Linked DNA regions of Homo sapiens: region 2 is linked to region 1. The links are contacts of gene promoters, found by promoter capture Hi-C in human tissues and cell types (Jung and others, 2019). All regions are on one chromosome and are shown on one strand. The core of a region is centred on a gene start or on the middle of the fragment in contact, and the rest is flanking DNA. Distances in the headings are between cores, read along the strand shown.

The links. The method cuts DNA at HindIII sites, captures the fragments that hold promoters and counts their contacts. A contact is called where the count stands out against the background at its distance.
Region 2: a contact is called between a fragment that was not itself captured here and the fragment with the promoter of RIMKLA in region 1, in 2 of the 25 tissues and cell types used here (H1 embryonic stem cells and aorta).

The regions. Positions count from the first base shown.
Region 1 is chr1:42,379,100-42,382,246 of GRCh38, reverse strand. It overlaps RIMKLA (ribosomal modification protein rimK like family member A), which reads right to left and starts at 1,455. Exons shown (of 5, transcript NM_173642.4): 1 at 1,150-1,455. The coding sequence starts at 1,312. RefSeq lists silencers at 1,239-1,458, 1,539-1,658, 1,669-1,848. The HindIII fragment of the contact is 8,902 bases long and covers 1-3,147 here.
Region 2 is chr1:42,443,602-42,446,748 of GRCh38, reverse strand. The region is part of intron 3 of ZMYND12 (zinc finger MYND-type containing 12); the gene reads left to right. Among named protein-coding and RNA genes, the nearest start is that of ZMYND12, 11 kb to the left of the region's middle. The HindIII fragment of the contact is 6,677 bases long and covers 1-3,147 here.

The sequences.
Region 1 (3,147 bases), core at 206-2,705:
ATGTAAGGTACCTAATGTTTATGGTATATTTCTCCAACAGGATATACAATCTGATATTAAGTATGAGGGACTTCGATAAACTTGGAGATGAAAAATCTATAACAGATATATTCCACTCAGAAACAGGTCATATTCAAAATCTCACTTGTAAGTAGTCTTTCCGAATTTGAAATTCCTTCCCCTGCCAAAGCAAAGTAACAGATTACGAGCTTATTTAACCATTAATAATTGTTGAAATAATGCGAACAGTATCCCAAGATGCACCCTGAACTGGGCGCAAATCCTTTTGAGTCCTGGACTCCCTGAAATGGTTGGATGCCTCCAGTGGAGCCCCAGAGACACTCAAACAGCAAGCCAGAGGGTTTTCTGCGTCAGGGATTCCTAAATCAGAGAGGCCTGTATTAAGGATATACGAAAAAATAATTAACCTTTTGAGGTCAAACCCACAGATGACAACCATGTCTTACCCACAAAAGTCTCCTGAACACAGCAGTGGAGTGATCAGTGAGGCCAGAACTGTCTGAACCTGAAATCCCGGCTCTTCTGGAATCAGAATTCAACGCTGCTAGGGAGAAGGATGAGTTAAACCCATCAAAGGTCTACACTCCCACTTTACACTCGAGAAGTGACTCCAATCTTTCTCAGATTTCCCCCATATGTGGCTTTCTAGTTTGGAAATAATATTCTATGTGGTGCACATTACTGATGCTCACACACTCCCAAAAAACTTTTTTAAAACAGTCATCTTAATAGTAATTTTGTAAATCTGGTGTGGATTTCTAGAAACCTCAGAGTCTAAACTGTCAAGGTATTGATGCGAGCAGGATTTGCAAATGTGGGGTTTAACAGCCTGATTTTCCTCGGACACCTGGGTGGCTTCAGGTGAATTCGGGTTTCTCACAAAATGAAGTCCCCTAAGTAAATTAAATCGCGTTCTCGAATCTTGGCCTCGGGGCAGGTGGTGGTGGTTAAAGAAGCTATGAAGGTTAGCGGCTTTCTCCAACCCCAAGAAGTCTCGCAGCTAGAGTGCGGCTAGTGTGCGGGCCCGAAGGAGACTCTGCTGCGGGAGGCCCGGCGAGCGCGCCCACCCGACCGGCTCTCGTGGACCCCGGCGCGCCTCCCTGCCCTCCCCGGGCCCGCCTCGCTCACCGAGGTGGCCGCCGACGATGGTGACGGCGATCTGGTCCATAAGCACCGCCCGGAAGCGCACGTCCTGCTCGGAGCAGCGCTGCCGGAGGGCGCGCAGGATCTGCACCTGCGGGTAGTCCTCGCGGATGCGCCGGTCCGTCAGGAACCAGAGCTGGGAGCACATGGCGGCCAGGGCGGTGCGCCCCGCGCGGCGCGGACCCCTCGGCGCCCCGGGCCGCTCGCTCAGTAGGGCGAGCGGAGGGGCGGCCGGCGTCCGGGGCGAGCGCGCCACGGCTCCGCTCCCGCGGGTGCGCCAGGCGTCTCTGCAGCCCTGACCCAGCGAATCCGCCCGGCCACTCAGCGCCGCCGTCGGCCCCGCCAGCCAATCAGCGCGCGGCGGCGGGCGCTGGCGGCTGCAGAAGCGACCCTGGCGGGCGGTGCCGGGGAAGGACGGCGGGTGGGGGGCTTGCGGCGGCGGGGGAAAGGACCCGGGGTTCCGGGGAGCGAGCCGCCGGCGGGCGCAGGCGAGGCGGAGGAGGGCAGCCCCGGCAGGCCCCGGACACCCGGTGGACGTGGCGCTGCGGGCTGGGGTGGGACAGCCGGAGCAGGAGGGGCCGGGGCGGCGGCCCTGTGAGGCTCGGAGGGTTTCCGAGCTGACGGGCCAGAGATGCGCAGTGGGCGGCGGATGCGTCTCCCAGGCGATCCCGGGCGCTCGGGGGCTGGGACACGGGCGGACGCCTGCTGAGCCCCGGACAGGGAGGGCCTCGGGGACGTCCCAAAGGAGATTCCGGGGTATGGCGAAGGTCACACGGCTAGGTCCCCAGTTGGACCCTAAAGCATTGGAAGGAGAGGGATTTCTCTGCCGAAATCCTAGCCTGAAGCCCCACGGGGGTGGGGGAGGATGTAGGAGAGGGGGAAGTTGAGTCTTACCCACCTCCCATTCAGATAATTTGAAAGTGCATTTCCTGGGGTCTCAGATTTTCTTACACTGGACATCCCCTCCTAGGTTTCAGCAGGTCTGAGCCTTCACAGACTCGAGGTCATAAAAAATTGACCTAGCATCCTTTTCAGTTAGAAGGACCACTGGCTGGTCTCCCTTCACCACTCCCGCTCTCCCCAGGCCATACAACTGAGTCATCTTTAAACACTGTCCTTGGTCCTGGCCAATTGCAAACCCTGCCTGCAGACAATAGTGTTTGAAGCCAGATTTTCCTTTCTAAATAACTGCAGGATTGAAGTTAGCCATTTTTGGAGACTGCATTTGCTCTTCCAGTTCATTAAAATATGCCTTTTTTTAATTTCTTTTTTGGCTTAGGGAAGCAAGAGTAGTTTCAAGGTAGACCCAGCAATGGCAACTTAGAAATGGGGTAAGTTGTCTCAGGGAAGGCACAGGCTTCTCTGTAAATATTGTGCAGGTGTGTGCATTTACTCACTAAGATGAGCCTATAGGAAAGTTCTGTATACTGGAATTTCAAAAGTTATTTTTCAAGCAATGTTTTTCTTTTTTTTTTTTTTTTTTTTTTTTGAGACGGAGTCTCGCTCTGTGGCCCAGGCTGGAGTGCTGTGGCGCGATCTCGGCTCACTGCAAGCTCTGCCTGCCGGGTTCATGCCGTTCTCCTGCCTCAGCCTCCGGAGTAGCTGGGACTACAGGAGCCCGCCAGTACGCCTGGCTAATTTTTTGTATTTTTTAGTAGAGACGGGGTTTCACCGTGTTAGCCAGGATGGTCTCGATCTCCTGACCTCGTGATCCACCCGCCTCGGCCTCCCAAAGTGCTGGGATTACAGGCGTGAGCCACCGCGCCTGGCCTTTTCAAGCAATCTTAAGTAAGTATTTTGATGTTGCAAAATATCTCCTCCCCCGTTCTATGAATGTATTTTCTTAAAGTAACAATAGTGCCCTATGGATTGGTAACTTTCAAAACTATTTTATGGCAAAAGACAAAATTACAACAAATTTAGTTATAGATTGAATTGGCTTTTGAGATTCATGAATTGGGGTAGCCTCCATTCCACAGAATA
Region 2 (3,147 bases), core at 354-2,853, 64 kb before region 1:
GGAGTTAGGGAGTAAGTGTAAATATAATAATGGGTGTACGTATACACACATTACATCTGTATTTATTTCTATATCTATATATCTTTTTTTTTTTTTTGAGACCGAGTCTCACTCTGTCACCCAGGCTAGAGTGCAGTGGCGCAATCTGAGCTCACTGCAGCCTCCACCTCCCTGGTTCAAGCAATTCTCCTGCCTCAGCCTCCCGAGTAGCTGGGACAACAGGTGTGTGCCACCACGCCTGGCTCATTTTTGTATTTGTAGTAGAGACGGGGTTTCACCATGTTTGTGATCTTGAACTCCTGTCCTCAAGTGATCCACCTGCTTCAGCTTCCCAAAGTGCTGGGATTACAGGTATGAGCCACCGTGTCTGGCCTGTATCTATATATCTACATCAATATCTCTATGACCACTAGTCTATACTGTTTGATCCAGATCTAATACAGCACCATAGGGTTCAATCTGATTTACTTCCATTCCTTAATTGCAACTCCCTTTGCTGACAGCTTTCACTTTCATTGGTTTATTTACATATTAATGAGTTCCCCTGTATGAATCAATCCCCGCTCTCTAACTCCGTCCTTTCCACCTTATAGATACCTCTTCCCGCTCCATGGGCCCTGACTCCCCATTCCAGGCTGCCTCTGCTGCATGGATCCCTCCTCACTTGTGTGGGTTCCAACTCCCCATAACAGGCTGTTTGCCTGCAGGAATGCCCTGCTCACCCTGCCCAGGTCTGACACCCCATTCCAGACTGTCTTTCCTCCAAAGTAATGAGAAAAGCACTGGACAAGAAAATACAGCCCAGGTTCTGTTTACCTCTGACACTGGCTAGCTATGGGATTCTGGAAAAGTCACCCTAGCCCAAGTCTCATCATCTCTCATCTAGACCACTGCCTACTAACTGGTCTCCCCACATCATCTCTGGCCTCCCTCCAATGTGGTTTGCATACAAAAATGTGACCCATCACTCCTCTAAATAAAGATCAAATTTCTAAAGCAACCCATGAGGCTCTGCTTGATCTAGCCGTTAACAAATTCTCTCACCTCAATTCTATCACCTTGTCTCTCTTGAATTATTTTCTCCCTCCCTTCCAGTTACACCGACCGGCCTTCTCTCAGTTCCTCAGAAGCATGATGATTTCCTTGTTTGGAAAGGCTTTTCTGTAGCCACTCTCTCTGCTTCTCCTCCTCTTCCCTTCACCAAATTAACTCCTTATCATCTTTCAGGTTTCAGCTCAAGGGTTACTACTGCCTTGTCTAGAAGCTTTCCCAGGGCTCCAGACCAGGTTGGGTCTCCCCTTTTTTTTTTTTTTTTTTAGACGGAGTCCCGATCTGTTGTACAGGCTGGAGTGCAATGGCCTGATCTTGGCTCACTGCAACCTCTGCCTCCCAGGGACAAGTGATTCTCCCACCTCAGCCTCCCGAGTAGCTAGGACTACAGGCACGCACCACCACGCCCAGCTATTTTTTGTAGTTTTAGTAGAGATAGGGTTTCAGTATGTTGCCCAGGCTGGTCTTGAACTCCTGGCTTCAAATGATCCACCCACCTCAGTCTTCCAAAGTGCTGGGATTACAGGTGTGAGCCACCGCACCCAGCTGGGTCTCATTTTTAATATACTTGTTTAAAGAACTACCCTTTCTGGCCGGGCACGGTGGCTCACACCTGTAATCCCAGCACTTTGGCAGGCTGAGGTGGGCGGATCACGAGGTCAGGAGATCGAGACCATCCTGGCGAACACGGTGAAACCCTGTCTCTACTAAAAATACAAAAAAATTAGCCGGGCGTGGTGGCGGGTGCCTGTAGTCCCAACTACTCTGGAGGCTGGAGCAGGAGAATGGCATGAACCCGGGGGGCGGAGCTTACAGTGAGAGGAGATCGCACCACTACTGCACTCCAGCCTGGGTGACAGAGCGAGACTCCGTCTCAAAAAAAAAAAAAAAAAAAAGAACTACTCCTTTCTTCTGAGCACTTAGTCCATTAATAATTGTATTCATTGATGAGATTATTTAATTGTCTCCCTGCTCCAGTAGACTGTAAGCTCAGGGGAGAACTGGATCTGTGTCTATTCTTAATTATCACGGATGTCTTCACACTCAGCCCAGTACTTAGCACAGAGAAGGTACTAAAAAGATAATTTCACAGTACCTGAAACCTCGTGAGCACTGTGTAAGTATGTGTTGAATCTGAGTTGTCTTCACAGGATTCTTTTAAGGGTGAAATGAGTTCGAGTGTAATGACCATGAAAGTGCTTTGAAGTCTGGAAAGTACTGTCTAAATGGAAGATTTCACTGTAACTTCACAGTCATTGGTTTAAAACCTTGCTAACGTTTCTGGAAGTCTAAAGAAATCACTTTCCTGTGCACATGTTTCTTTCCCATCTTAGAGATTACTTCAGACTGGAGTGATTTGGAAGCAGGAGAGCCTGAGTTCAAATATCATCTCTTTCTTTACTGTCTGGGTGATCGTAGGCACCAAGCTCTTCCTCACTCAGAGCTCTCACATATATGGTTCCTTCTGCCTGGGATGCTCTTTTCTCTCTCATACGTGGCTGGCTTTTGATCATCCTTCAGGTGTCTGCTTAAACTGGCCAGGCATGGTGACTCCCACCTGTAATTTCAGCACTTCGGGAAGTCGAAATGGGAGGATCTCTTGAGCCCAGGAATTCAAGATCAGCCTGGGCAACCTAGCAAGACCTCATCTCTTAAAACAAAAAAATTAGGCGGTCATGGTGGCATGCACTTATAGTAGTCCCAGCTACTTGGGAGACTGAGGTGGGAGGATTGCTTGAGCCCAGCAGGTGGAGGCTGCAGTGAGCTAGGATTTTGGTTACTGTGTTCTGTTCATTTCCTTCACAGCACTCATGTTTTGTCTATTTATTGTATGCCTACTTCACTTGATTTTAAGCTTCTTGGAGTCAGGGATCATGTCTTAGTGTGCATTGAGCATCATGCATTGTGATAGAGACTCAATCAATTAGGTGAATATATGTTTGGTTGAATGAATGAATGAAGTTGCCTCCTCTTCAAATTCCTCATCTGATGATTATTTCACAGGGTTGTTAGCAGACTTAGACCACCGATGCAAAGGGACTAGCACAATGTTGGGCAAATAACAGGTCTTCAATAAATACAGATTCCCTTTTCTTC